Regions from separate parts of the Homo sapiens genome. Here all the other regions are linked to region 1. The links are contacts of gene promoters, found by promoter capture Hi-C in blood cells and fetal thymus (Javierre and others, 2016). All regions are on one chromosome and are shown on one strand. Each heading gives the region's core, a stretch centred on a gene start or on the middle of the fragment in contact. The rest is flanking DNA. Distances are from core to core; before and after follow the strand shown.

Evidence for each region. Contacts are between HindIII fragments. The CHiCAGO score rates a contact against its expected background, and 5 or more counts as called.
Region 2: a fragment that was not itself captured here is called in contact with the fragment with the promoter of SSTR1 in region 1 in 1 of 17 cell types (endothelial precursors); the score reaches 5.9 in endothelial precursors.
Region 3: a fragment that was not itself captured here is called in contact with the fragment with the promoter of SSTR1 in region 1 in 1 of 17 cell types (endothelial precursors); the score reaches 5.5 in endothelial precursors.
Region 4: a contact is called between a fragment that was not itself captured here and the fragment with the promoter of SSTR1 in region 1, in 1 of 17 cell types (endothelial precursors). The highest score is 6.0, in endothelial precursors.
Region 5: a fragment that was not itself captured here is called in contact with the fragment with the promoter of SSTR1 in region 1 in 2 of 17 cell types (neutrophils and naive CD8 T cells); the score reaches 6.9 in neutrophils.
Region 6: a contact is called between a fragment that was not itself captured here and the fragment with the promoter of SSTR1 in region 1, in 2 of 17 cell types (non-activated CD4 T cells and neutrophils). The highest score is 5.8, in non-activated CD4 T cells.

The regions. Positions count from the first base shown.
Region 1 is chr14:38,205,683-38,210,876 of GRCh38, forward strand. It overlaps SSTR1 (somatostatin receptor 1), which reads left to right and starts at 2,222. Exons shown (of 3, transcript NM_001049.3): 1 at 2,222-2,422; 2 at 2,761-2,927; 3 at 3,364-5,194. The coding sequence starts at 3,708. The coding sequence ends at 4,883. LOC124903303 (a long non-coding RNA gene) reads right to left here and starts at 3,605. Exons shown (of 2, transcript XR_007064117.1): 1 at 3,400-3,605; 2 at 1,533-2,594. RefSeq lists enhancers at 2,024-2,685, 3,669-4,372, 4,373-5,075. The HindIII fragment of the contact is 9,392 bases long and covers 1,878-5,194 here.
Region 2 is chr14:38,617,895-38,623,088 of GRCh38, forward strand. No RefSeq gene overlaps it. Among named protein-coding and RNA genes, the nearest start is that of LINC00639, 300 kb to the right of the region's middle. The HindIII fragment of the contact is 1,130 bases long and covers 1,662-2,791 here.
Region 3 is chr14:38,599,798-38,604,991 of GRCh38, forward strand. No RefSeq gene overlaps it. Among named protein-coding and RNA genes, the nearest start is that of LINC00639, 310 kb to the right of the region's middle. The HindIII fragment of the contact is 2,904 bases long and covers 1,390-4,293 here.
Region 4 is chr14:38,561,326-38,566,519 of GRCh38, forward strand. No RefSeq gene overlaps it. Among named protein-coding and RNA genes, the nearest start is that of CLEC14A, 310 kb to the left of the region's middle. The HindIII fragment of the contact is 861 bases long and covers 1,743-2,603 here.
Region 5 is chr14:37,918,758-37,923,951 of GRCh38, forward strand. No RefSeq gene overlaps it. Among named protein-coding and RNA genes, the nearest start is that of LINC00517, 19 kb to the left of the region's middle. The HindIII fragment of the contact is 8,978 bases long and covers 1-5,194 here.
Region 6 is chr14:37,937,223-37,942,416 of GRCh38, forward strand. No RefSeq gene overlaps it. Among named protein-coding and RNA genes, the nearest start is that of LINC00517, 38 kb to the left of the region's middle. The HindIII fragment of the contact is 597 bases long and covers 2,156-2,752 here.

The DNA of each region.
Region 1 (5,194 bases), core at 972-3,471:
ACTCCAGAGGCTAAGGTGGGAGGATCACTTGAGCCTGAGACATCAAGGCTACAGTGAGCTGTGATTGTGCCACTACACTCCAGCCTGGGTGATAGAGCAAAACCCTGTCTCAAAATAATAATAATAATAATAATAATAATAATAATAATAATAATTTAAAAATAAATACATAACTGAAAAGATTTAATAATGCTGCATAGCTTATATCCATCTCAATCCCTCTCTTTGTCTTTCTCTCATGCTTTTTAAAATTGAAGTAAAACTCCCATAATATAAAATTTATAATTTTAGTCATTTTTGAAGTGTACAATTCAGGGATTTTTAGCATATTCACAATGTTATGCAATCATCACCACTATCTAATTCCAGAACATTTTCACCACTCAAAAAAGAAAGCTCATACCCATTAAGCAGTCCTTCCTCTTTCCCCTCTGCCCCCAGCCCCTGGCAACCACTAACGTACCTTGTCTGTATGTATTGCCTGCCCTGGGCATGTCATATAAATGGAATCATGCCACACGTGGCCTTTTGTGTCTGGCTTCTTTCCCTTTGCATAGTGTTTTCAAGCTTCGTCTACGCTGAAGCAGGTATTAGTACTTCATTTCTTTTTATGGTTGAATACTATTCCATTGTATGGATATACCACAATTTATTAATTCAGCAATTGATGGATATTTGGATTGTTTCTAATTTTTGGCTATTATGAATAGTGCTGCTATGAATGTTCATGCACAAGTTTTTGATTAAACACCTGTTTTCAATTTTGAGGAGTAAATAGAAGTGGAATTGCTGGCTCATATGGTCATTCTTTTAAACTTTTAAACTTTTTAAGCAATTGCCAAAATTTTTTTCTGAAGTTGCTGCATCATTTTTTATTCCCACCAGCAATGTATGAGTGTTCTAATTTCTCCACATTCTCACTAACGTTTATTTTTTGTTTTTAAAAATGTTCTTATAGCCATCCTAGTGGGTGAAAAGTGGCATCTCAAAAAAATAAAAATAAAAAGCATTCTCACGTCAGGTCTTAAGTTTTCTTCTTTTGTATATGAGGCCACAAAATTGAGAGAAATTTTCCCTAAGATGAGCTGAAAGTGAATTTAATGAAATTCTGAACAACAGAGCTGTTTTTCACTGACTCCCATCACACACTTCCCAAAGAGCAACCATGATCAAAGCCAAGGCATCTAAATAATGACTGTTGAAATCCAAGCTCCCAGAGGTACAGATAGTCAGGTGTCTTTAGTCAGTGATTGGCAGAGGCATCTAAGGCATTATATGAGGCTTGGCTAGTAAAATGCTCTTCTGGGATTCTGGGACAATACCCACTCTCTTTTCTTTTAACTTAATGAACATTTATTTTCTCTCCATATGTGCTGTATTTGTAAAGGAAAAATAAATATAACTAAACACCAATTGTACATTCCACTTTAAAGAAGGCAATTTGTTCAGGTAAAATAATGGGTTAAAACAGTTTCAGCCGTATGAAATTTCAAATTCCATCCTAGCACATTCCTCATTAATAATTGCACACATTCCTATGAAAGTCTGTCATTTATTTTAGTCTTTGATTGCTATCATCAACACACTACAGAAGTTATTCTTTCCTGTTCAAGACAATTAGTTTTGGGAACTAAAACACATGCAGTATATGTAAGTGATTACCTGGATAAAGCAACAGGGCATTAGGAAATATACTTTTTTGTTTTTAATTTCTGCATCCATTTCTTCATTCTGGACCGGTACAGATAGCCTCCATGAGGAGTTTAGCCTCTCCTTGGAGTAAACTCTACTGAGAGGAGGAAAACTGAGACTTACAGTACAGCGGGCACAGCCTGGTTGAGGAGAAGGAGAAACTAAGGAAAAACTGGAGACAGCAAAGCTTGAAGGAGGCAGAGCACTAAGCTGCTGCGGGTCACTCTTCCTGTGAACAGGCTAGTTTCAAATAAAGGCTTGCAGGGATCTTACCGAGCAAAGCAACGTTTATGAAAAGGAACAGGGAAGTTGCATGGAGTGTGATTCTTCCTTCCACAGGAACAGTTGGAAAGCCAAAGAGACCCTAGAGTAAGAATGGTGGTAAGTCCCAGGGTTCGTTTAAAATCCTGATAACGGAACATACATTCTTTCTTACGGGAAAACCGTTTTGATTCTTAAATGAAGTCAGTGAGCTTCAGGCTTGCCTACATTGATATCTCCTAATGGTTTGGGCACGTGACCCAGAGCCAGCTCACAAATCAAGCCTCAGAAAGAGCTGACATCCTAGCTCTTCCCGGAAAAACTCGAATGTCGCCCTGCCGTTCCTGGGGTTGGTGACAGGTCTGGTCATCGCACGGCGGCAGCTCCTCACCTGGATTTAGAAGAGCTGGCGTCCCCGCCCGCCCAAGCCTTTAAACTCTCGTCTGCCAGAACCCGCCAACTCTCCAGGGTACAAAGTACAGCAGGGACGCGGGTGGAGCCCTTCCAAGCGGCGCAGCCTTATCTTTCCCGAGTGAACACCTAGGTGGATTCCCAACACCGCGCCTGGCACGTTTCTGGAGGGAGTCTCAAGCTCCTCCAGAGCTCCCAGCTGCGCGTCCTCGTTTCTGCAGTCGATATTCCTGTGGGAGACACGGGGGGCTCTGAGCGCTACGAGCTTTATTAAGAGATTTGCGAATGGTTCACTCAGGTCCCTGAACACTCCCAATAGCCTAAGCTGCCTGCTGTGTTATAGCGCAGAAGCCCCTAACGCACGGTGGTTGTCCTTTCTTCTCATAACGCTCGCAGCTTAGGGCCAGTTTCCGCGATTCTAAGAGTAATTGCGTGGGCACCTGTGCTGGGGCCAGGCGCAAAGAAGGGAGTTGGTCTGCGCGAAGATCGTCAACCTGCTAACAGACCGCACATGCACTTTGCACCGACCATCTACGTCTCAGTCTGGAGGTTGCGCACTTTGGGTAAGGAGGGCCCGGAACTTCCCTGGCGGGTCTGAGCTGCAAGGCAAGCGAGGGTGGGAAGAGGGAATTTAGGGTTCTGGACTGCGGGACGGGAGAGAAGCTGGGGTCTCCAGAGAAAAGGGCAGCAATGGAGGGAAACTGAGATGAACTCCAGACATCCATGTTCATGGATCCGTTTGAGTCTTTGCTTTGGGTAGGAGAGGAGTGGAATGAGACAGAATCTATACCTTTGGTTCCCACCCGCCCTCCAGTAAGGCCGAGGAACTCTCTTGGTTCCTCTGAGAGCAAGAGGCAGATGGTGCTGCGAGGGAACCCCGGAAGGAGCCACTAAAGTTGAGCAGAGTGCAGGACTGGGAAGGAAAAAAATGGGGGGCGGGGGGGACAAGCCACCTATGTGCTCTCCTCCCTTTCTCCACCCCACCCCCTTTTTTCGTAGCTGCTGACGCGCTGGTGGTGCCTATTAATCATTTACCAGTCCAGAGCCGCGCCAGTTAATGGCTGTGCCGTGCGGTGCTCCCACATCCTGGCCTCTCCTCTCCACGGTCGCCTGTGCCCGGGCACCCCGGAGCTGCAAACTGCAGAGCCCAGGCAACCGCTGGGCTGTGCGCCCCGCCGGCGCCGGTAGGAGCCGCGCTCCCCGCAGCGGTTGCGCTCTACCCGGAGGCGCTGGGCGGCTGTGGGCTGCAGGCAAGCGGTCGGGTGGGGAGGGAGGGCGCAGGCGGCGGGTGCGCGAGGAGAAAGCCCCAGCCCTGGCAGCCCCACTGGCCCCCCTCAGCTGGGATGTTCCCCAATGGCACCGCCTCCTCTCCTTCCTCCTCTCCTAGCCCCAGCCCGGGCAGCTGCGGCGAAGGCGGCGGCAGCAGGGGCCCCGGGGCCGGCGCTGCGGACGGCATGGAGGAGCCAGGGCGAAATGCGTCCCAGAACGGGACCTTGAGCGAGGGCCAGGGCAGCGCCATCCTGATCTCTTTCATCTACTCCGTGGTGTGCCTGGTGGGGCTGTGTGGGAACTCTATGGTCATCTACGTGATCCTGCGCTATGCCAAGATGAAGACGGCCACCAACATCTACATCCTAAATCTGGCCATTGCTGATGAGCTGCTCATGCTCAGCGTGCCCTTCCTAGTCACCTCCACGTTGTTGCGCCACTGGCCCTTCGGTGCGCTGCTCTGCCGCCTCGTGCTCAGCGTGGACGCGGTCAACATGTTCACCAGCATCTACTGTCTGACTGTGCTCAGCGTGGACCGCTACGTGGCCGTGGTGCATCCCATCAAGGCGGCCCGCTACCGCCGGCCCACCGTGGCCAAGGTAGTAAACCTGGGCGTGTGGGTGCTATCGCTGCTCGTCATCCTGCCCATCGTGGTCTTCTCTCGCACCGCGGCCAACAGCGACGGCACGGTGGCTTGCAACATGCTCATGCCAGAGCCCGCTCAACGCTGGCTGGTGGGCTTCGTGTTGTACACATTTCTCATGGGCTTCCTGCTGCCCGTGGGGGCTATCTGCCTGTGCTACGTGCTCATCATTGCTAAGATGCGCATGGTGGCCCTCAAGGCCGGCTGGCAGCAGCGCAAGCGCTCGGAGCGCAAGATCACCTTAATGGTGATGATGGTGGTGATGGTGTTTGTCATCTGCTGGATGCCTTTCTACGTGGTGCAGCTGGTCAACGTGTTTGCTGAGCAGGACGACGCCACGGTGAGTCAGCTGTCGGTCATCCTCGGCTATGCCAACAGCTGCGCCAACCCCATCCTCTATGGCTTTCTCTCAGACAACTTCAAGCGCTCTTTCCAACGCATCCTATGCCTCAGCTGGATGGACAACGCCGCGGAGGAGCCGGTTGACTATTACGCCACCGCGCTCAAGAGCCGTGCCTACAGTGTGGAAGACTTCCAACCTGAGAACCTGGAGTCCGGCGGCGTCTTCCGTAATGGCACCTGCACGTCCCGGATCACGACGCTCTGAGCCCGGGCCACGCAGGGGCTCTGAGCCCGGGCCACGCAGGGGCCCTGAGCCAAAAGAGGGGGAGAATGAGAAGGGAAGGCCGGGTGCGAAAGGGACGGTATCCAGGGCGCCAGGGTGCTGTCGGGATAACGTGGGGCTAGGACACTGACAGCCTTTGATGGAGGAACCCAAGAAAGGCGCGCGACAATGGTAGAAGTGAGAGCTTTGCTTATAAACTGGGAAGGCTTTCAGGCTACCTTTTTCTGGGTCTCCCACTTTCTGTTCCTTCCTCCACTGCGCTTACTCCTCTGACCCTCCTTCTATTTTCCCTA
Region 2 (5,194 bases), core at 977-3,476, 410 kb after region 1:
CCGGACATATCTTCAGGTTTTTGGTGCACCTTCCCCCTTGGAATAGGAGCTTGAGCTGCCACTCCCTTCCCACATGAAGAACTTGGTGCAGGAGCACTCCCTCTATGCCATACCCAGATGTAACCGGAGGTATCTGGCACAACCACTCCTACAGATTAGAAGTTTAAGTCGCCCTGCCATTCCCATGCAACTACCTTGTTGTGGCAATGGTTTCTGTTCTCCTTCCCCAGGCATATTACCAAATTTGAAGGGCATCTGCTACCCCAAATTAGGAGCTTGAGCTGGCCCTATCCTCCCCTGCAAAGACCTTGTTGCAACAACAATATCTTTGCTCTTTGCCAGGGCATATTTCCAGGCATTTGGCACATTCATTGTTTTGGGTTACAAGGCTGAGCCGTCCCTTCCTTCTGGTGCAGAGAACTTGGTGCAGCTGTACTCTTTCTACTTGATGTCCAGATATATCTGCAGGCATTTGGAGCATCCACTCTTACAGGTTAGGAATTCAGGCCATCCTCCCCCATTCTTATGCAGAGAACATAGGACAGCAGAGGCACACCATGTACACTTGGCAACTGCCCACTGGACCCCCTCAGAGCTGATGCTTGCACCTGTCACTGGGGGACCTGCATATGGGCCTGCCTGGTCTGGCACCACCTATCTTGGTTCCCCCATTCTGCGACTGAGCAGAGAGCTCAGATCACTGAACATTCCACAGATCAGCCCATTGTGTGAAGAAACAGAGAGTTTCTCCCAGTACACAAAGATCAAGTGTGTACCCATCTGCATTGCCTGCATCCAGCTTTTACCCATAAGCACCACCTATTGGACTGGAGGTTGAACTGCACAACACCAAAGAAAATCTGACATAAGTGCACAGCACTGGGGAATGAGATACACCTCCTGAGACTCTCACTACCCTTGCACCACAGGAGGCAGTGAGCCTGTTCACACACCAAGTACATCTCTACCCAACCAGCATTTGGAAAAGTAACCATAAAAAGGCTATCTATAACAAAAGAACATATACAGACCCTTTGCCACTGAAAGCACCCAGAACCAAAGGCAAAGGACCCTACACAACATACATTATATCATCCAAACCTCTGAGTTTATAGGTATTCGAGAGGGAGAAGAAAAAGTTTAAAGTGTGGAAAACTTATTTGAGGAAATAATTCAAAAAACTTCCCTGGTTTTGGGAGACATTTAGACATCCATACACAAGAAGCTCAGAAAATTTCTGGAAGGTACATTGCAAGAAGAACCTCACCAAGGCATATAGTCATCATACTATCCAAAGTCAGTATGAAGGAAAAATACCCAAGAGTGGCAAGAAAAGTATCTAATCACCTATAAAGAAAATCCCAACAGACTAACAGTGGACTTCTCAGCAGAAATCCCACAAGCCTGAAGAGACTGGGAGCATATTTTTAGTCTCCTTAGAAAAGAAGTGTCAGTCAAGATTTTTTTTTCCAGTTTTTTTCTTTTTCTTTTTTTTTTTTTGGTTTGTTTGTTTGTTTGCAGAGACAGGGTCTCACTTTGTTGCCCAGGCTGGTCTTGAACTCCTTGCTTCAAGTAATGTTCCTGCCTTGGCCACCAAAAGTGCTGGGATTACAGGCATGAGACACTATGCCTAGCTAAGAATTTTATATCCTACCAAATCAAGCTTCATAAGTTAAGGAAAATAAATTCTTTCTCAGACAAACAAATGCTAAGGACATTCACTGATACTAGAATGACCCAACAAGAAAAGCCCAAAGGAGTTCTAAACATGAAAACTAAAGGATGATACTTGCCATCATAAAAGGACATATAAGTACAAAGCTCATAATCCTAGAAAGCATTGAAACTCCAACACAACAGGCTAAAAACTTTATGACAGGTACAAAACCTCACATATCAATATTAATCTTGAATCCAAATAACCTAAATATTCTACACAAAAGCTACAAAGTGGCAAATTGTATTTAAAGACAGACACAGACTCAAAACAAAGGGGTGTGTGATGGTTAACACTGAGTGTCAACTTGATTGGATCGAAGGATGCAAAGTATTGATCCTGGGTGTGTCTGTGAGGGTGTTGCCAAAGGAGATTAACATTTGAGTCAGTCGAGTGGGAAGGGCAGATCCACCCTTAATTTGGGTGGGCACAATCTACTCAGCTGCCAGCATGGCCAGAATAAAAATTGGGCAAAAAAAAAAAACAGAAAAGGAGCTTGTGCAGGAATCCCACATTTTTAGAACCATCAGATCTCGTGAGACTCATTCACTATTATAAGAACAATGCAGGAAAGACACACCCCCATAACATGATCGCCTCCCATAACACGAGAGAATCGTGGGAGTTACAATTCAAGATGAGATTTGGCTGGGGACAAGCCAAATCATATCAGGGTGGAGAAAGATATATGATGTAAAAGGAAAACAAAAGGAGCAGGAATAACCATTCTTACATCAGATTAACACACACTTGAAACCAATAATGTTAAAAAGAAGGCAAAAAATGTAGTATATAATAATAAAGTCTTCAATAAAACAAGATTTAACTATCCTTAATATGTATGTACTCAATACTGGAGCACCCAGATTCATAAAACAAATACTACTAGATCTAAGAAAACAGATTGATAGCAATACAATAATAGTGGGGAACTTCGATAACCCACTGACATCACTAGACAGATCACTGAGTCCAAAAATCAACAAAGAAACTCTGGACTTAAGCCAGACTGTAGACCAACTGGGCCTAGTAGACATTTCTAGAACATTTCATCCAATAATCACAGAATATGCAAGCTTCTCACCTACATATGGAACATTCTCCAAAATCAGCCATATGCTTGGCCATAAAGCAAATCTCAATAAGTTCAAAAAAAAATCAAATTATATCAAGTAGCATCTCAGACAACAGTGGAATAAAATTAGAAATCAATGCCAAGAGGAACTCTCAAAACTACACAAGTACTTGAAAACTAAACAACTTGCTCCTAAATAACCTTTGAGTAAACAATGAAATTAAGGCAGAAATCAAAAAATTTTCTGAAACAAATCAAAATAAAGACACAACATAAAAAAACCTCTGGGACACAGCAAAAACAATGCTAAAAGTAAAGTTTATAGTATTAAATGCCTACAGCAAAAAGACCGACATATCTCAAATTAACTACCTAATCTTGTTGACATAGTTTGGCTCTGTATCCCCACCCAAATCTCACCTTGCAGCTCCCATAATTCCCATGTGTTGTGGGAGGGATCCGATGGAAGATAACTGAATCATGGGGGCGGGTCTTGCCAGTGCTGCTTTTATGATAATGGATAAGTCTTGCAACATTTGATGGCTTAAAAAAATGGGAATTTGCCTGCACAAGTTCTGCCATCCATGTAAGATGTTACTTGCCTCTCCTTGTCTTCCACCATGATTATGAGGCCTCCCCAGCCACACGGAACTGTGAGTTCTCCATTAAAACTCTTTCATTTGTAAATTGGCCAGTTTCAGGTATGTCTTTATAGGCAGCATAAAAATGGACTAATACAGTAAATTGGTATCAGTAGAGTGGGGTGCTGCTGAAAAGATATCAAAAATATGGAAGCAACTTTGGAGCTGGGTAACAGGCAGGGGTTGAAACAGTTTGGAGGGCTCAGAAGAAGACAGGAAAACATGGGAGAGTTTGGAACTTCCTAGAGACTTGTTGAATGGCTTTGACCTAAATGCTCATAATGATATGGACAATGGAATCCAGGCTGAGGTAGTATCAGATGAAGATGAACTTTTTAGGATCTGGAGCAAAGGTAACTCTTGTTATGTTTTAGCAAAGAGACTGGTGGCATTTTGCCCCCGCCCTAGAGATTTGTGGAACTTTGAACTTGAGAGAGATGATTTAGGGTATATGGTGGAAGAAATTTCTAAGCAGCATTCAAGATGTGACTTGGGTGCTGTTAAAGGCATTCAGTTTGATAAGGGAAGCAGAACACAAAAGTTCAGAAAATTTGCAGCGTGACAATGTGATAGAAAAGAAAAACCCATTTTCTGAGGAGAAATTCAAGCCAGCTGCAGAAATTTGCACAAGTAATGAGGAGCTGAATGTTAATCCCCAGGACAATGGGGAAAATGTCTCCAGAGCATGTCAGAGGTCTTCATGGCAGCCCCTCCCATCACAGGCCCAGAGGCCTAGGAGAAAATGATTTTGTGGGCCAGGCCCAGGGTCCCCATGCTGTGTGCAGCCTGGGGATTTAGTGCCCTGCGTCCCAGATGCTCCAGCCTCGGCTGAAAGGGACCAACCTAGAGCTCCAGCCATGGCTTCAGAGAATTCAAGCCCCTAGCCTTGGTAGCTTCCATGGGGTGTTGAGTCTGTGAGTGCACAGAATTCAAGAATTGGGGCTTGGGAACCTCTACCTAGATTTCAGAAGATGTATGGAAATACCTGGATGCCCAGGCAGAAGTTTTCTGTGGGGTGGGGTTCTCATGGAGAACCTCTGCTAAGGCAGTGAGAAAGGGAAATGTGGGGTTGGAGCCCCCACACAGAGTTCTTACTGGGGCACCACCTAGTGGAGCTGTGAGAAGAAGGCCATCGTCCTCCAGACCCCAGAATGGTAGATCCACCAATAGCTTGCACCGTTTGCCTGGAAAAGCCACAGACATGCAATGCCAGACCATGAAAGCATCCAGGAGGGAGGCTGTAACTGGCAAAACAGCAGGGGAGGAGCTGCCTAAGACCTTGGGAACCCACCTTTTGCCTCAGCGTGACCTGTATATGAGACATGGAGTCAAAGGAGATCATTTTGGAGCTTTAAGACTTGACTGCATCGCTGGATTTTTGACTTGCATGAGGCCTGTAGCCTCTTTCTTTTGGTCAATTTCTCCCACTTGGAATAGCTGGATTTACCCAATGCCTGTACCCCCATTGTATCTAAGAACTAACTAACTTGCTTTTGATTTTGTAGGCTCATAGGCGGAAGGGACTTGCCTTATCTCAGATGAAACTTTGGAATGTGGACTTTTGAGTTAATGCTGAAATGAGTTAAGACTTTGGGGGACTGTTGGGAAGGCATGACTGGTTGTGAAATGTGAAGACATGAGATTTTGTGGGGGGCGGACGGGAGAGGAATGGGGACGGGGTGTCCCCATTCAAATCTCATCTTATAGCTCCCATAATTCCCACATGTTGTGGGAGGGACCCAGTGGGAGATAATTGAATCA
Region 3 (5,194 bases), core at 1,592-4,091, 390 kb after region 1:
ACATTTAAGGTTAATATTGTTATGTGTGAATTTGATCCTGTCATTATGATGCTAGCTGGTTATTTTGCCTGTTAGTTGATGCAGTTTCTTCATAGTGTCAATGGTCTTTACAATTTGGTTTGTTTTTGCAGTGGCTGATACTAGTTTTTTTTCTTTCCATATTTAGTGATTCCTTCAGAAGCTCTTGTTAGGCAGGCCTGGTGGTGACCAAATCTCTCGCATTTGTTTGTCTGTAAAGGATTTTATTTCTCCTTTGCTTATGAAGCTTAGTTTGGCTGGATATGAAATTCTGGGTTGAAATTCTTTTCTTTAAGAATGTTGAATATTTTTCCCCTCTCTCTTCTGGCTTGTAGGGTTTCTGCAGAGAAATCTGCTGTTAGTCTGATGGGCTTCCCTTTGTGGGTAACCTAACCTTTCTCTCTGGCTGCCCTTAACATTTTTTTCTTCATTTCAACCTTGGTGAATCTGACGATTATGTGACTTGGGGTTGCTCTTCTCAAGAAATATTTTTGTGGTGTTCTCTGTATTTCCTGAATTTGCATGCTGGCCTGTCTTCCTAGGTTGGGGAAGTTCTCCTGGATAATATCCTGAAGAGTGTTTTCCAACTTGGTTCCATTCTCCCCATCACTTTCAGGTACACCAGTCAAACATAGATTTGGTCTTTTCACATAGTCCCATATTTCTTGGAGGCTTTGTTTGTTCCTTTTCACTGTTTTTTCTCTAATTTAGTCTTCACACTTTATTTCATTAAGTTGATCTTCAATCTCTGATATCCTTTTTTCCACTTGATTGATTCAGCTATTGATACTTCTGTATGCTTCACAAAGTTCTCGTGCTGTGTTTTTCAGCTCCATCAGGTCATTTATGTTCTTCTCTAAACTGTTTATTCTAGTTAGCAATTTGTCTAACCTTCTTTCAAGGTTGTTAGCTTCCTTGCCTTGGGTTAGAACATGCTCCTTTAGCTCCTCCTTTAGGAGGATTTTGTTATTACCTACCCTTCTGAAGCCTACTTCTGTCAATTCATCTATCTCATTTTTCCATCCAGTTTTGCTCCCTTGCTGGTGAGGAGTTGTGATCCTTTGGATCACAAAGGCATTCTGGTTTTTGGAATTTTCAGCCTTTTTGTGCTAGTTCTTCCTCATCTTCACGGATTCATCTACCTTTGGTCTTTGATGTTGATGAGTTTCAGATGAGGTTTCTGTGTGGACATCTTTTTTGTTGATGTTGATGCTATTCTTTTCTGGTTTTTAGTTTTCCTTCTAACAACCAGGCCCCTCTTCTGCAGGTCTGCTGCTGTTTGCTGGAGGTCCACTCCAGACCCTGTTTGCCTGGGTATCACCAGTGGAGGCTGCAGAACAGCAATGATTGCTGCCTGTTCCTTCCTCTGGAAGCTTCGTCCCTGAGGTGCACCTGCCAGGTGCCAGCTGGAGCTCTCCTGTATGCAGTGTCTGTCAACCCCCGCTGGGAGGTATCTCCCAGTCAGTAGGCATGGGGGTCAGGGCACCACTTGAGGAGGCAGTCTGTCCTTTAGCAGAGCTTGAGTGCTGTGCTGGGAGATCCACTGCTCTCTTCAGAGCTGGCAGGCAGGAACATTTAAGTCTGCTGAATCTCTGCCCACAGCTGCCCCTTCCCCCAGGTCCTCTGTCCCAGGGAGATGGGAGTTTTATCCATAAGTCCCTCACTGGAACTGCTGCCTTTCTTTCAGAGATGCCCTGCTCAGAAAGGAGGAATCTAGAGAGGAAATCTGGCTACAGCGGCTGTGCCAGGCTGCAGTGGGCTCCACCCAGTTCGAACTTCCTGGCAGCTTTTTTTAAACTGTGAAGGGGAAACCACCTACTTAGGCCTCAGTAATGGCAGATGCCCCTCCCCACACTAAGCTGGAGCATCCCAGGTCGACTTCAGACTGCTGTGCTGGCAGCAAGAGTTTCAAGCCAGTGGATCTTAGCTTGCTGGGCTCCGTGAGGGTGGGATCCACTGAACTAGACCACTTGGTTCCATGGCCTCAGCCCTCTTTCCAGGGGAGTGAATGGTTCTGTCTTGCTGGCGTTCCAGGCACCACTGGGGTATGGAAAAAAAAAAAAAAAAAAAAAACTCCCGCAGCTAGCTTGATGTCTGCCCAAAGGGCTGCCTGGTTTTGTACTTGAAACCCAGGGTCCTGGTGGCGTAGGCACCTGAGGGAATCTCCTGCTCTGCGGGTTATGAAGACCATGGGAAAAGCATAGTATCTGGGCCAGAGTGCACTGTTCCTCACAGCACATACCTCATGGCTTCCCTTGGCTAGGGGAGGGAGTCCCCCAACCTCTTGTGCTTCCTGGGTGAGGGAATACCCCACCCTGCTTCGGCTCGCCCTCCGTGGGCTGCACCCACTGTCTAACCAGTCCCAATGAGATGAGCCACGTACCTCAGTTGGAAATGCAGAAATCACGCACCTTCTGCATTGACCTCACTGGGAGCTGCAGACTGTAGCTGTTCCTATTCAGCCATCTTGACAGCCATGCCCCATTATCTGAATTCTTATAGCCATGAAATTGCGTAGGGAAGCAGTCATGCCTCAAAAGTATTCATTAATGAACTTGTAAAATTAATCCTGACTCACTCAAATACCCCAACCCTATCTTAATAAATGTGTGATAAATACATAACACAACTTTATTTCAAAGTAAAATTGCAAAACTTGAAAAGATGTAAGATTTCATAGAGTAGATAAAAGTGTTGGTAACCTTTTAAGTCACCAACAAAGTTAGCTAAATGAGGATTAGCAGAGGCAGGTCAATTAAGGATGAAGGAGAAGAAAATCAACCAGAAAAAAAATGACAAGAACGGGTCTTCAAAGAAGAATCATTCAACAATCAAAGGATTTAAGATAGGCCCTTGGTAAAAGTCTTGAAATATTTTTATAAAAGTTATTATCTTTATGATTGTGTTGGAAAGTGAAATATAAACTTAGAAGATGTCATAGCATGGTATCATTTATTCTTATCAGAAAATAGCATCCCAATAATCCATTTTAAATGGATTATAATAAGTGGACTGATCTGGTGCTAATTTTCCTAGAAAACAGAAGGAAGATTTCCTGTATGTACAGCCAAACCAAAGACATAATAATGTTAGTCTTCTCATAAGCAACAATAAATGTTAAAAACAGTGGGAAAATGTCTTAAAAATTCTGAGATAAAATGACTTTAAATCAAGAATTTTATACATAAACAAACTACCAATGAAGTGTTTATCTTCCATGTATTCTTCTTCTGAAAAAATAGGCACTCCAGAAGTATTTTGAGAGAGACTGAGAACAAAAGCTAGACACACACACACACACACACACACACACACACACATACAGAGAGAGAGACAGAGAGAGAAAGAGAGAGAGAGAGAGAGAGAGAGATTGAGAGAAGAGAAGCCAAGAAAATAGAATGGAAGACATAAAGAGATGAAGAGATTTCTGCTTTAGGTATGAGGGGATAAAGTAATTCAAACCAAATCAGACTACCCTCTGGGAAAAAAATACACAAAACTTGATATAAATATGTTATTTAAAAAGTTTCTTAAAAGCATCAAAAGCATGTCAGTATAATAAGGAATTACAGGGCAGAAATCTAAGACTTGGGGAAAGGGATACCTGGGGGCATTTGCTGATCTGAAAGAGGGAGCCCATAGGTGTTTCTGAAAGCCTTTTTGAGCTAAGGGAGAATGTCAGAGTTCAGGCCCCACCCAGTACAGAGTATTGAGCCCCCAAATGGCTATGCCCTCAGAGTAGTGGTGAAACAAAAATAAACCAATCCTTGACCAGTCTGCAGTCTTCCTTTTTTTTTAACTTTTAAGTTCAGGGGTAAATGTGCAGGTTTGTTACATAGGTAAACTTGTGTCATAGAGTTTGGTTGTACAGATTATTCCCTCACCCAGGTATTAAGTCTAGTACCAATTAGTTATTTTTCCAGATCATCTCCCTCCTCCCACTCTCTACCCTCCAATAAGCCCCAGTATTTGTTGTCCCTTTCTATGTGTCCATGTGTTTTCATCATTTAGCTTCCACTTATAAGTGAGAATATATGGTATTTAACCACATATTTTGATAAATTAATGATGTATTTTGTAATTTCTCAAATGAATACTAAAAGAACAAGGAAAGAGCCTAACACTTTCAACTAAAAGATAAGGCAAGGAAATTAATGATTTTTTAAAAAATCAATCAGAACTCATGTTCTGTTCCTGTGTTAGTTTGCTAAGGATAATGGCCTCCAACTCCATCCCTGTCCAAATTTCAGTGGCCCCTAAAATTTCAAGCTGTGAAGCTTAGAGTAAGGATATTCTAGATTGTTAGCACCCCTCTTCAGAGGCAAATAATATCATCCTAAGTTTTAAATTATTTCAACAAATACTTTTTCAAACACAATGTCCAGCACTCACTGAAACATGGCAAGATACCATGGGCAAGAACAAGGAGTAATAAAAATATCCAATATAGCCACAGGCATAGTTAGACACAGTAAAACTATACTTAACATTTTCAAGGAGAAGAAAAGTAAGCTGTAAAATTTTAGTAGGAAACTGACAACTACAAAAAGTGACTGCAGATTTGAAAAAGAAACAAATTGAAATCCTAGAACTGAATAATTCATAAATAAAATTAAGAATTCAATGGGCAGAATTAACAATATATTGCACAGGTGAAGAGACGGTGAACAGAAAACAGGTCAGAAGCAACTCTCCAGAATGCAGCACACCTTCAGAAAATGGTAAAAAACACAAAAAAGAAGGTAAAAGACAGATAATTCCATGAGAGATTCTAAGTTTCAACATCTAGAAGAAGAGAAAAAGAATGGATAACAGGCAATGTTTGTGGAGATTTTGGCTTCAAATTTTCTAAAACTAATGAAAAATATCAATGATCAAATTTAGTAATACCAATAATTTGGAACCAGCAAAAATAAAGGCAAAATGAAGACATTTTTTAGGTACATGACTAATGGAAAGTTTTCACCACTAAGAGACCTGCACCCAAAAGACTTTGTAAAGGATGTTTTTAGAGAATGGGAAAATAATTGTTGAGAAAGATACAGAGGTCAAAAAATACAAATAATGAGCAAAGATATTTGGAAAGCTGTGAGTAAATCTCAATAAACATTGACAGTACAAAAAATAATAACACATAGGTTGGGAAGAATGTAAATGAAGCTAAGTGTTTTAAGCT
Region 4 (5,194 bases), core at 923-3,422, 360 kb after region 1:
ACCTATAGAAGGATATCATTCTTGATCCTATTTTAGAGCAAGCTGTCTGCAATCCTGGGAGCTAAAAGCAGTGGCAGCCATTGGCATCAGAGAGACATAGGCTATAGATTGGAGATCTGGGACTGGAGCAAAAAAGGGTCTCCTCTAGCCAGACCTGAGACGCAAATGTGGTGTGAGCTCCAGCTGCTGGTGTAGGAATTGGGCAGCCCCCCATCACGGGGTTAGAGCAGGGAGAGAGTTGCTGGGGAGGCATGGTTTTGACCCAGGCAGCAAGGTTTACAGCTTGGGACAGTTTTGTGCACTGGAAGCAAATTGCAGCAATAAACTAACTGTCCTGACTGGCTGCCACAGTCAAAACAAGGGAATGAACTCTGCCAGTTATGGGAGTCAGAGGAAAGCAGTACCCACTCCTGCTTGCTAGGCTGTGGTGCTAGGACTGCCCCTCCCTCCCCATGCTAAGACCTTGGTGCAGCAGCAGTTGCTCTGCTCCTTGCCCAGGCATTTCTCTAGCAGTCTGAGGACTGCTCCCTATCCCTGTCAGGGTCAGCACTTGTGCCTGCCACAGGGGGCCCAAGTGCAGGCTGGACCAGTCCAGCTTTTCCCAGCTTCACCCCCCACTCCAAGACAAAGCATGGAGAAAGACCACTGAGCATTTCATGGCCCATCCATCAAGAAAGACCACTGAGCATTTCACAGCCCATTCCATCACCAGGGACACCTGAACACTTCTACAAGTTAACAGAAGTCAGACATATATCCTACTGCTTCCATCACAGCTGGCTCTTACCTGCAAGTGTCATCTACTGATCTGTAGGTCCACCTGCACAGTCTGTTAAAACATCTGCTGGCACAGTATGCAGTGCTTAGGAAAAAGATAAGCTTCTTGTGGCCTCTGCTACCACCACCACCCAGGCCACCCTAGCTAGTCAGGAGGTCATGAGCTGTCTTACTTCCTTGGTACACCATACTATAACCAGCACTTGAGAAAGCCACCACACTAAAGGTATATAGAACCAAGAAATCATACAGGATTTTTGTCACTGAATGCACCAAGAAGCAAAGCCAAATGGCCCTACTCAAAATACATCACAGTCCCATCCTCAAGAAAAAAAGGTCCTTCCCCAATGAAAGTAAATTTAAAATAAGAAGCAGCAACAGTTTTTCCAGATGCACAGAAATCTAAATAAAGATACACAAAGCATGGCATGGTATTATGACAGCCACAAAGGAATAAAGTAATTCTCTAGCAATGAATCCTAACCAAAAAGAAATCCTCAAAATGCCATATAAGGAATTCAGAATATTGATTTTAAGGCAGGGTGTAGTGGCTCACACCTGTAATCCTAGTATTTAGGGAAGCCAAGGCAGGAGGATTGCTTGAGGCCATAAGTTCAAGGCCAGGCACAGTAATAGAGAGACCCTGTCTTTACAAAAAAAAAAAAAAATTAATTAGCCAGTCATGATGGTGCATGCCTGTAGGCCTAGCTCCTCAGGAGGCTGAAGTGGGAATATTGCTTGAGCCCAGGTGTTTGAGATTGCAGTGAGCTATAATCATGCCAATGCACTCTAGCCTTGGTAATAGAGTGAGACTCTGTCTCTAAAAACCAATACAGAGAAATTTTTTTAAAAAATGAATTCAGAATATGAATGAAAAATTTGCAAAGGAGATAGATATCTTTCCGTGTAAAGACAGAACATATAAAAATGAAAAATTAATTGAAGGAATTACAAAATATATTGAAAGCTTCAACAAAAGACTAGACCAAGCAAAAGAAAAAAATCTTATAACTTGAAAATAGGTCATTTGAGTTAACCCTGTCAGATAAAAATAAAGAAAATATAATTTTAAAAGAATAAGGCTTTCAAGATATATAGGAATACATAAAGGGACCAACTTTAGTAATCTAAACATTATTCCTGAGGAGGAGGAAAAAGAAAAAAGTTCAGAAAACATATTTAAGAAAATAATCAGCTGGGCGCAGTGGCTCACGCCTGTAATCCCAGCACTTTGGGAGGCCGAGACGGGTGAATCACATGGTTAGGAGGTCAAGACCATCCTGGCTAACACGGTGAAACCCCGTCTCTACTAAAAATACAAAAAAATTGGCCGGGCGTGGTGGTGGGTACCTGTAATCCCAGCTACTCAGGAGGCTGAGGCATGAGAATGGTGTGAACCCAGGAGGCGGAGCTTGCAGTGAGCTGAGATCGTGCCACTGCACTCCAGCCTAGGCAACAGAGCAAGACTCCATCTCAAAAAAAAAAAAGAATAAAATAAAGTAATCAACAAAAACTTTCCTAGCCTAGGAAGAAATTTAGACATTCAAATAGAGGAGGCTCAGCAATCCCCAGAAAATAAATTGCAAAATTGACTTCACCATGCCATATGGTCATTAGACTGTCTAAAGACAATATGAAGGAAAGCATTCTAAAGTCAGTAGGAAAGAAGCATTTAGTCACCTATAAAGGAAACCCCAAAAGAAGACTTCTCAGCAGAAACTTCACAAGCCAGAAAAGAATGGCGTGGGGTTTTCAAAGTGCTGAAACAAACAAACAACAACAACTAAAAAACCTGTAAATCAAGAATTTTATGTTCATCTAGATTAAGCTTTATAAATGAAGGACAAATAAAATCTTTCCCAGACAAGCAAACATTGAGATAATTCATCACCACTAGTCCAGTCCTACAAGAAATGCTCAAAGGAGTCCTAAACATGGAAAAGAAAGGTTGATATGTGCTATAATAAAAACACACAAAAATATAAAACTCAAAGTCGTATAAAACAATCACACAAAGGAGGAAGACAGAGGAATCAACTGGCAACATGAGAAAATTTTACCAAGGCACAAAGAAAAACAGAGAAAGAATTTAGAAAACAATTAGATAACAAGAATATGACAGCAAAAACAAAACTCACATATCAATATTAACCTTGAATGTAAATGGATTACATGCTTCATTTAAAAGATATATATTGACAGAATGAATTTTAAAAACATGAGCCAATAATATGCCACTTACAAGAAACTCACCTTATCTCTAGAGAGACATTTAGACTAAAAATAAAAAGACATTCTATGCAAACAGAAACCACAAGCAAGCAGCAGAGGTATACTTATGTCAGACAAAACAGACTTTAGATCACAAACAGTAAAAAAAAAATGATAAAGAAGTGTATTATATAATGATAAATGGATCAATTCAACAAGTAGATATAATAATACTAAATATATATGCACCCAACAGCTGGAGCACCCAGATTCATAAAACAAATATTACTAGACCTAATGAAAGCGATAGCTAGTAATACAATAATATTAAGGAACATCAACACCCCACTCACTGCACTAGACACTTTACTGAGACAGAAAATCAATGAAGAAACACTGGATTAAATTGGACTTTTGACCAAATAGACCTGACAGCCACTTACAGAACATGCTACCCAACAACTGCAGAATATACATTCTTTTCATCAGCCCATAGAATATTCTCCAAGATAGACAATATCTTAGGGCACAAAACAAGTCTCAAGAAATTTCTAAATATTGAAATCATATCGTCTCAAGAAATTTCTAAATATTGAAATCATATTCTAAATATCAAATCATATCAGACTATAGTGGAATAGAAGTATCAATACCAACAGGAACTCCAGAAACTACACAAATATATAGAAATAAACCAATATGCTCTTAAATAACCATTAGGTCAATAAAGAAATTAAGATGAAAATTTTTAAAATTTTTGAAATAAATGAAAATAGAAACACAATATACCAAAACCTTTGGGATGCAGCAAAAGTAGTGCTAAAGGCAGGTTTATAGTGTTAAATGCCTACATCAAAAAATAGAAGGTAGAATCTTCATTCCGAAGGCTACAGTGTATAAACATTATATAAATTTGTATGCCTTTTATTCTATTAAACAATCTGACTCATGTCGTTGATTTTTCAGTGAACCTTCAGAAGACCAAAAGGAAAGCTCTCTGTTGGCTCCCACAGTTACGGCACAGCAAGCAGGGTACCTCCAAAGCCATTCTGATCTTATGAAGGCCACAGTGAAGAGATCCCAGGATCCTAACAAGCCAGTAAAAGTTAAGAACTTATAAATCAGGCTCCTAGACTTACTCTGTGAAATCTGGTTGAATGGATGGTAAAAATGACTGTTTTGTCTCAAGGTTTTGATTAAAGGGAAAAAAGGATTTGTGTGACTAGTTTTGGGGTGTAGTGACTCTAGTGTGCTTTTGGTACTTTGTGGTATAAATATTCATATTGTTTGATTCCTTTCACTTCAGAAATAGCCTTTTTGTTGCTGTTTTCCTTGGCTTTGTCTTTCTGTGGTGTTCTGCATAAAGAGGGGAACCATACGCTAATACCCGGTCCTAGAATCCCTACAAGCCCACTGTTTGAGCTAGCCCTGTAAACTATTCAGTTTTAGTATTCTGACTACACCAGTGTCTGTTAAGACAAACATTGCTGTGGGCTCCTAAAATAAAAACCAGGCGAAAGTCTCCTCTCACCATATTTTATGTCCTTGAGAGCTTGACTGGTGACTAAGTGTGGATATTCTTTTTCTTGGTCTCTGCCATCCAGAGGGCATGATATTTCAGGTAACATCATGCAGATAGTCTGAAAAGATTGGGAGTCCAAAACACATTTTTCATACTGAACCAGCATATATCTCATATATATTGATTGATGTCTTATGTCTTCCTAAAACATATAAAACCAAGCTGTAACCCAACTATCTTAGGTACATGTTCTCAGGACCTTTTGAGACTGTGCCTCAGGCCATGGTCGCTTACACATGGCTCAGAGTAAATCTCTCCAAAAATATTACAGAGTTTGGCTTTTTCATCCACATCATAAATTAAATAACTAGCCCCAATACTTTTCAAGTTCATGAGACTTTAATAATCTTGGTAAATAAAACTAGTTTCAAAATTCTCTGTAGTAATTTAAAATATTAAGATCATGTTATGTTAAACTAAGTAATCCTAGGTTTTTCTCTGAAAATTAGAGGTTATTAAGAGTTAAAATAGTTGTATATGTAATTAAAACTACTAAATATAAGAGAACCAATTGATGTACAATGTATATAAGTAAATGTGTTTTTGGTAAAAAAATAAAATTATAAAACATATTGGAATGTGTGTTTGGTGAAAAGGAAACTAAACGCTCCTATTCAACATAGT
Region 5 (5,194 bases), core at 801-3,300, 290 kb before region 1:
CTATTAAATTTCTAAAGATTAAAATTATGTTAATACTCAATGTAGATGAGGATATTTGGAAAAAAGCACTTTCATATTCTGCTGCTGGGTATGTGCAGCATTTCTGGAGTATAATTTAGAAATGCTTTTTGGTTTCTGAAATATTTCATTGAGAAAATAATAACTCAAGATATTCATCATAGAATTCTATATCAAATAATTGAATACTCATGTATTAAACTATGCATATAATTATTTACAATAACATTGTGGGATGAAATTTAATAAGATGGACAATAAATATTTAATAAATGATAGCACAATAAAGTATAAAGTAATTTAAAAAATACATTTAATTTTTAGAAACAAGAGTAGAAGGATAATTTTTTAAACATTAACGATTTACTCTGGGTCATGAGATTTGTAGGTAATTTTAGTTTTCTTCATTTTGTTAATGTATGTTATTAGAGTTACAAAGAACATTAATTTCTGGTAAAAATAAAGCCATTTATAAGAAAATGACAATACCCTTAGATTCTGTTATCCATATACCCTTTAAGTATAGAACTAGCTTATATATCCAACTTCAACTTAATTTCCAAATATCTTTGGCTTGAAAAAGATAAATCCTTTGAGTATGAGATTAGAAGGCTGATATCTCTGTGTTTATTTTTTAAAGCAGAGTTAGATTTTGGGAGAAAAATAACTCTGTCTGATTCCCTGGATTTTTGCCAACAATTTTTGGGTATGTATGTGTGTGTGTTTTGCACGTAAAATTTTAAAAATGCTTAGCTGGACAAGATGTGTTTTATTAATGACATGTAGCATAGCCAAAGTTTAATTTTTTTTTCTTTTATTTTGAGACGGAGTTTGCTCTGTCACCAGGCTGGAGCACAGTGGCGCGATCTCGGCTCACTGCAACCTTCAACTCCCTGGTTCAAGCGGTTCTCCTGCCTCAGGCTCCCAAGTAGGTGGGATTACAGGCACGAACCACCACGCCCAGCTAATTTTTGTATTTTTAGTAGAGACGGGGTTTCACCATGTTGGCCAGGATGGTCTCCATCTCCTGACCTTGTGATCTGCCTGCCTCGGCCTCCCAAAGTGGTGGGATTACAGGCGGGAGCCACCGCACCTGGCCCAAAGTTTAATTTTAAATTCATTCAGAAGTGTATTCCTGAGATACTTAAACACTAATACCAGGTTCCTAAAATATCTGCCCAGAAACTTTCAGAAATTTTAATTAATATTCCAAAGAAAAATTATTTCAAATTATTTAACCTCTCATTAAAACTCATTTTCTTTTTTATTTTATTTTATTATTATTATACTTTAAGTTTTAGGGTACATGTGCAAAATGTGCAGGTTTGTTACATGTGTATACATGTGCCATGTTGGTGTACTGCACCCATTAACTCGTCATTTAGCATTAGGTATATCTCCTAATGCTATCCCTCCCCCCTCCCCCCACCCCACAACAGTCCCTGGAGTGTGATGTTCCCCTTCCTGTGTCCATGTGTTCTCGTTGTTCAATTCCCACCTATGAGTGAGAACATGCAGTGTTTGGTTTTTTGTCCTTGCGATGGTTTGCTGAGAATGATGATTTCCAGTTTCATCCATGTCCCCACAAAGGACATAAACTCATCATTTTTTTATGGCTGCATAGTATTCCATGGTGTGTATGTGCCACATTTTTTTAATCCAGTCTATCATTGTTGGACATTTGGGTTGGTTCCAAGTCTTTGCTATTATGAATAGTGCCGCAATAAACCACGTGTGCATGTGTCTTTATAGCAGCATGATTTATAGTCCTTTGGGTATATACCCAGTAATGGGATGGCTGGGTCAAATGGTATTTCTAATTCTAGATCCCTGAGGAATTGCCACACTGTCTTCCACAATGGTTGAACTAGTTTACAGTCCCACCAACAGTGTAAAAGTGTTCCTATTTCTCCACATCCTCTCCAGCACCTGTTGTTTCCTGACTTTTTAATGATTGCCATTCTAACTGGTGTGAGATGGTATCTCATTGTGGTTTTGATTTGCGTTTCTCTGATGGCCAGTGATGGTGAGCATTTTTTCATGTGTTTTTTGGCTGCATAAATGTCTTCTTTTGAGAAGTGTCTGTTCATATCCTTTGCCCACTTTTTGATGGGGTTGTTTGTTTTTTTCTTGTAAATTTGTTTGAGTTCATTGTAGATTCTGGATATTAGCCCTTTGTCAGATGAGTAGGTTGTGAAAATTTTCTCCCATTTTGTATGTTGCCTGTTCCCAATATCCTTGATGAACATTGATGCAAAAATCCTCAATAAAATACTGGCAAACTGAATCCAGCAGCACATCAAAAACTTATCCACTATGATCAAGTGGGCTTCATCCCTTGGATGCAAGACTGGTTCAACATACACAAATCAATAAATGTAATCCAACATATAAACAGAACCAAAGACAAAAACCACATGATTATCTCAATAGATGCAGAAAAGAGCCTTTGACAAAATTCAACAACCCTTCATGCTAAAAGCTCTCAATAAATTAGGTATTGATGGGACGTATCTCAAAATAATAAGAGCTATCTATGACAACCCCACAGCCAATATCATACTGAATGGGCAAAAACTGGAAGCATTCCCTTTGAAAACTGGCACAAGACAGGGATGCCCTCTCTCACCACTCCTATTCAACATAATGTTGGAAGTTCTGGCCAGGGCAATTAGGCAAGAGAAAGAAATAAAGGGTATTCGATTAGGAAAAGAGGAAGTCAAATTGTCCCTGTTTGCAGATGACATGATTGTATATCTAGAAAACCCCATTGTCTCAGCCCAAAATCTCCTTAAGCTGATAAGCAACTTCAGCAAAGTCTCAGGATACAAAATCAATGTACAAAAATCACAAGCATTCTTATACAGCAATAACAGACAAACAGAGAGCCAAATCATGAGTGAACTCCCATTCACAATTGCTTCAAAGAGAATAAAATACCTAGGAATCCAACTTACAAGGGATGTGAAGGACCTCTTTAAGGAGAACTACAAACCACTGCTCAATGAAATAAAAGAGGATACAAACAAATGGAAGAACATTCCATGCTCATGGGTTGGAAGAATCAATATTGTGAAAATGACCATACTGCCCAAGGTAATTTATAGATTCAATGCCATCCCCATCAAGCTACCAATGACTTTCTTCACAGAATTGGAAAAAACTACTTTAAAGTTCATATGGAACCAAAAAAGAGCCCTCATTGCCAAGTCAATCCTAAGCCAAAAGAACACAGCTGGAGGCATCATGCTACCTGACTTCAAACTATACTACAAGGCTACAGTAACCAAAACAGCATGGTACTGGTACCAAAACAGAGATATAGATCAATGGAACAGAACAGAGCCCTCAGAAATAATGCCGCATATCTACAACTATCTGATCTTTGACAAACCTGAGAAAAACAAGCAATGGGGAAAGGATTCCCTATTTAATAAATGGTGCTGGGAAAACTGGCTAGCCATATGTAGAAAGCTGAAACTGGATCCCTTCCTTACACCTTATACAAAAATTAATTCAAGATGGATTAAAGACTTACATGTTAGACCTAAAACCATAAAAACCCTAGAAGAAAACCTAGGCAATACCATTCAGGACATAGGCATGGGCAAGGACTTCTTGTCTAAAACACCAAAAGCAATGGCAACAAAAGCCAAAATTGACAAATGGGATCTAATTAAACTAAAGAGCTTCTGCACAGTAAAACTCATTTTCTAAAGGTCAAAAATATGAAAACATGAAACATGAAAACAAATTTCTAGCTTCTCCAAGTTACTCTTTGTGTACCTACACAACCATGTGCCAATTCTTAGGGTCAGCCCTAGGAAAGGCTGTGAAGTACGGGACATGGTAAGAAGATGTTAGGGTCCAAAAAATTGTTCTTAGTGCCATATGTTCATAAGTGGAGAGTGACTCAGAGGGATTTCAACTCACTGTATAGCTGAGTAAGAACCTTTGGAATCAGGAAATCTGTCATCCTACTTTGGAAACTCTACCCTAAATGGATCAGGTTTAACCATGACCAAAGTCTATTGAGGCAATTCAAGACCACCCATCCCACCTAATCCTACACCACCCTACAAAAATTTCTACATTTAGGATCTTCAAGATACTTAATATATTGCAGAAAGTCAGCTTTTAAGGAGCAAATAAAGAAGGGAACACCTGTCTAAACAGGAAGCAAATGGTGGCCACTTAGTCTCATTTCAGGATCCAGTTTCGCCCCCAGATCTGCAAGTCTTTGGCTCGGCTCCCTGAGTCACTCCGGCTCCTGACTTCTGAAACACACTCCTGGTCTTGGTTGTTTTTGTTAGTGCAAGAAGCTCTGTCATTGGAAACAGATTGGAATGTAAAAGTTGTACTAGTAATATTAATTAGAAAACCAGGCCGGGCGCGGTGGCTCACGCCTGTAATCCCAGCACTTTGGGAGGCCAAGGCAGGCGGATCACGAGGTCAGGAGATCGAGACCATCCCGGCTAAAACGGTGAAACCCCGTCTCTACTAAAAATACAAAAAATTAGCTGGGCGTAGTGGCGGGCGCCTGTAGTCCCAGCTACTTGGGAGGCTGAGGCAGGAGAATGGCGTGAACCCGGGAGGCGGAGCTTGCAGTGAGCCGAGATCCCGCCACGGCACTCCAGCCTGGGCGACAGAGCGAGACTCCGTCTCAAAAAAAAAAAAGAAAAAAAAAAAAAAAGAAAACCAAAATCGTAGTAAATAAAGGAAATACAAAACCATGGTGATCCAGTGTATGCAATTTTTAACCCAAAAAGCAAAATCAACCTTTGCTTCCTCTTTGCCATATTTCCTCTTACCTTCTCCCTGTATCTTTGCTGTTCTGAGGTGGAGAAAGGGCTTAAATGGAAACTTATTAGATTCTCTGTTTTCAGTGGATGCTGAATGGTAAGTAAGTGGATGGGTTATTCCTGGACTGTAAAGTATTTCTCTCTTCTCTGGGAGTATACTGATTTAAGGAATAGGTGACAACAGCCAGGAGAGCCATGTAACTCTGTCTGTCTGTCTTACTTTCTTTTTGTTGTAAGGTGTTGAATTATTGGAATGAGATCTATGTTTAACTCTGGGGGAATTTGATTGATAAAGGCCTTAACATTCAGACAATTATTATGCCTATAACTCTCCTTGAGTTTCACAACAGAATAAAGCAAGTACTCTTTTACTG
Region 6 (5,194 bases), core at 1,204-3,703, 270 kb before region 1:
TGGGGAACAAACACTGTTCTGTTTGCTGCACCCTCTGTTTTTGACACTCCAGGCCCAGCAGAGCACATTTATCTCTGCCTATTAATGTGAGCAAACAGATTCCTTTACTGGCCCCACCAATTTAATCAGATATACTGTCAAACCTAGGCTCAAGCAGAGATCCCTATGATATGTTTGTTTTAGCTTTTTTTTTCTTTACAGCGGGAGGAAACTTAAATAGCTTTCAGTAAAAAAATAAAAATGATTTTATCAAGGTTTCCTCTTTCTCTCCAATTCTTAGTTCCATTCTCTTCAAATAGTAGGCATGATGACCCTGGTTAGCCTGAGTTCCACCTCAAAATCTTAACAATTCCATCGGAAAGAAATTTTTTTTTCCCCATTTGCTTTGACAAAAATATCAGTGAAGCGTCTGACTGTCCTGGTTTAGGACATGTGCTTATTTTTTAGCACTCACTCTAGCCCAAGGATGGCTTACTGTGATGGGCTACAGCTGTGTTGAATACTCAATTACAGCTGTGTTACCTTCCCACTCCCAAGACCTGCAGAGGTGTAGAGGTCAAGAAGAGGCCCATGATTGAGTACTCAAGGACTGAAGAATATTATGAGAATCAGAGTGGAGAAGGATACGTTTTCAAAAAGATGCTAGACAGATAATACCTGAATATCTATTATCATATATATATATTTTTTGTTGTGATCATAGAAGGTAAGCTCCCCACAAGCAGGGTTTTTGGTTGCTTTGTTCACTATTGTGTCCTCATCGTCGTGGTATATATTTTAAAAATTATTTTCACTTAAGACTGTATCATGACCATTTTCCCATGTGATTAATTTTTTTTTTTTGGTGGGGGGACGGTATCTCACTCTATCGCCCCGGCTGGAGTGCAGTGGTGCCATTTTGGCTCACTGCAAGCTCCACCTCCTGGGTTCATGCCTTTCTCCTGCCTCAGCGTCCCGAGTAGCTGGGATTACAGGCGCCCGACACCATGCCTGGCTAATTTTCTGTAATTTTAGTAGAGATGAGGTTTCACTGTGTTAGCCAGGATGGTCTCAATCTCGTGACCTTGTGATCTGCCCCGCCTCAGCCTCCCAAAGTGCTGGGATTACAGGTGTGAGCCACTGCACCAGGCTTAAATATTTTTTATAACATAATTTTAAGGACTCTACAGCATTCTATTGTTTGTAGTCTCCTACTTATTGCATCATTTTCTCCCAATTGTGCAAACCACTGTATATGTACTGTGATTTCCATCCTTTAATGTTATAAATTTCTCTTCTGATCAATGCTACCCAACTAAAAGAAACCATGCAGTGCACATTCAGTGATTTGTTTTGAGTCTCTTTGCACCTCCTTAGAAAATTGTATCAAATCATTTAAACCTCATATAAAGTTCCTGCTTTAATTTATGTAGTTGAGTACTAGATCACTCTGTGTCTTGCTTCCTAAGATGTAAAATAAGCATGATAGTACTACTCACCTCATAGGGCTGTTATCAGCATAAATGAGTATAGTATTGCCTGGCACTTAGTATGTCTAAGTGCTCAATAATTATTGGTTAAAATAACCATTATTATTGTTACCATTACATTGCCTTTCTCTAAAAGTAGGGTTAATATGTTAGTATGAGGGCACTGAGCTCAATAAGTGGAAGGGGCTAGCACTCGGAAAACAGAATCTGCAGGATATCAAATATAGATTACTACTTTTTGCAGTAATAATTGATGTATATGAAAAATTTGATTTGCTTCAATATGTTCCACAAAGTACTGGCTTTTATTTTCATGATGCTGGGCTCTTCTGTATCCTGACCATTCTGTATTTGTGTTCTTTTATGGGGGACACCGTCTCTCTTTCAGTCACATTTAATATTCAGTTTTTCTAGTGGTAGGAGGAGCATTTTAAAATGATTTCTATGAGTCCTTATTAGAAATGAACTCCCTACTGTGGCATCATAAGGTTTCATGTGTAAAACCATTAAACTTGAGAGCTGGAGCTGATGAGGCCTACCATCTAAGCACTTTATGTTCAATAACATTTGGCCTTCTAAAGCACTGCATAATTAGAATAATATTTTTTACCAGATTAGGAAGTCGTCACTGCCTGTGCAGTTGCAGGAGGGAGAACAAGTTTGGAAATCAACAATCCAGACTTCCAAGCTTCCACTCTTCATTCATTTCACCTCACAGGCTAGTCACAACACAAAGCGATGGTCACTTGGAGTCATGGATCCAATATGCACACAGTTGTGGAAGAAATGCAGAGACAATTTAATGTGTTTTCAATGAAGAATTGGCAGTTGTGGAAGGAATACTGCAGGTCCTCTTCTACTCTCAAAGGTGAGCTCCTCAAGGGCAGTGGTCTTGTCTGGCATGTTTTTGTATCGCCAGTGCCTGTGCAACCATAACCAAATGCCTCCTACTGGCCTGGATCTGTGGCAGGAGACTTACCTGATCTCATTGAATTCCCATAACAGCCTGAGGGGCTGGCAGCAGTAGACTCGTTTAAGAACCAGAGTGAGAAAACTGTGCAATTAAGTAGAGTAGCAGGGTGAGAAAACAGGTTCAGGTCTGTCTGCCACAAAACCCGTGTCTGGGAGGCATGTGACGGGGAGTCGGGAAGTGGACTCTGGAGCTGAACTATCTGACCTCCAACCCTGGCTCTGCCACTCACTGGCTGTGTCACTTAATCTCTCTGTCTCCAGTCCTACAATGTAAAATGAGAATGGTAACGATACTTGCCTCAAAGGCTATAAGCTTAAATGACTTTATAGTACTGCCTGGCATATACTATGTGTTCAGCAAATATCAGCAAAAATAACCATTATTGTTATGGTTGTTTTTGTTATTGTTACACTGCCCTTCTCTAAGAGAGAGTTTTAAATTTTGGCATTAGGGCACTGGGCTCAATAAATGATTAATAACATCGATTTTCTCTACAGAGAAGATCTTGGAATCTAATACATCTAATTTAATTTTTCCCTTAAATAATGGTTAGATAAGTATTAAAATGTGAATCTCCTTTTCTTTAAAGCAAAGGAGAAATGTTTACTTATTCCACTTCTTGCTTGACCAAATTATTTTTGTGGAATATTTTTGTTTACTTATGATCAAGAGGCACATGGTGTTGATCATTTCTTTTAATGTTTGCAACTCTTCTGTGGGTGTGGTTGGGTATTAAGAGGATGTGGGGCAGTGGAAGAATTTGTTTTGCTTATACTGTTTCTTTCATTAGAAAAACATTTGTTTTTTAGAAATGCACAGATATTTTGTACATTTCAAAGACATGAAAGGTAATCTTTATATTCAGAAAAAGAATATTGGAAAGATATCATAGGCAGCTGTTGCTTTTAAAAATGAATTTAAACAATTTGTTGGAGATCCTGGAAATATTTATATTGTGGATGATCTTGCCTCTCACTCAGCAAACTTGAAGTTCAGCTAGTTTTAATTGTGTATTCACTTCATTATTCAGTTGTCTATAAAATACTATACCATATATATTTACTATAACCAGCACAAATGTACAGTGTAAAATTTGATAAATTTTGACATAGGTATGCACCCATGAAACCATCACCGTAATTGATATATAGTCAACCCTCAGTATTTGTGAGGGATTGTTTCCAGGACCTCCTGCATACCAAAATCTGTGGATGCTCAAGTCCTTGGCATAGGACTTGGCATAGTCTTTGCCTACAACCTAACTCATATCCACTTCTATACTTCAAATCATCTCCAGATTACTTATAATACCTAATACAATGCAAATGCTATATAAATAGCAGTATTTATACTGTATTGTTTTTCATTTTTATTTTTGTAGTAGTATTGTTATTTTTTCATTTTTTGTAAGTATTTTCAATCTGTGATTGGTTGAATCACAGATGTGGAACCTGGGGATATGGAAGGCTGACTATAGTAAATATATCTATCATGACCACCTCCAAATTTGCTCATGCCCCTTTGTAAGCCCGTCCTCTTAATCATTACCCACACTGCTTGAGGCAACAACTGATCTGTTTCCTGTTACTATATATTAGTTTGCATTTTAAGTATTTTATACAAATAACCATACAGTATGTGTCTTTTTTTTCATTTGGCTTGTTTCATTCAGCATAAATATTTTGAGATTCATCTCTATTGTTCTTTTTATCATTTTATTCATTTCTCTCTATAGGTAAATGATTTTCCATTGCACAGATATTGCTACAGTTTATCCATTTACTGTTCAATGGACATTTGCATTGTTTCCAGTTCTCAGCTATTATGAATAAAGCTTTGCTGAAGAAAAATACTTTAGACAAGTTAAATTTAATAGAGTTTAATTGAGCAAAGAAAAATTAATGAATGAATCATGCAGCTCTTAGAACCAGAACAGATTCTAAGAACTCTGGCCTGCCATGTGGTTGTGCAGCATTTATGGACAGAAAACAGAAGTGAGATACAGAGGCAGTTTAGTTGGTGTTTTGCGTTATTTGAATCAGTTAGTCTCTTGTGATTGACTGAAGCTCAGCTACTGTAATTGACTGAGACTCAGCCATTTGATCTAAGGGTATTGTATGAGTCCATTCTCACATTGCTATACAGAACTACCTGAGACTGGGTAGTTTATCAAGAAAAGAGATTTAATTGACTCACAGTTCCATAGGCTGTGCAGGTGGCATGGCTGGGGAGGTCTCAGGAAACTTACAATCATGGCAGAAGGTGAAGGGGAAGCAAGCACATCTTACCATGGTGACAGGAGAGAGTGAAGAGGGAAGTGCTATACACATTCAAACAACCAGATCTCATGAGCACTCACTGGCTTTCACAAGAACAACAAGGGAGAACTCTGCCCCCTTAATCCAATCAACTCTAACCAGGCCCTTCCTCCAACATGTGGGGCTTACAATTCAGTATGAGATTTGGGTGGGGATACAGAACAAAACCATATCAAGTATACTTCTAAATTAGACCTTCAGTTCATTTATGTATTTATTAGGTTGCAGTTCATTACATAAGGACTTGAGTATGGAGGCATTCTCAGGCCAAATTTAGTTTAGTTTAATGTCTTCTATCAATGGGATTTTGGGAGGAAGACCACTGGAGTGTGACAGTCATCACATCATATCACATCATATCAAGGGTACATACTGTCAATAGGCCTTATCAACGTTGATAACCTGGTTCATCACCTAACCTTCATCACCTGGTT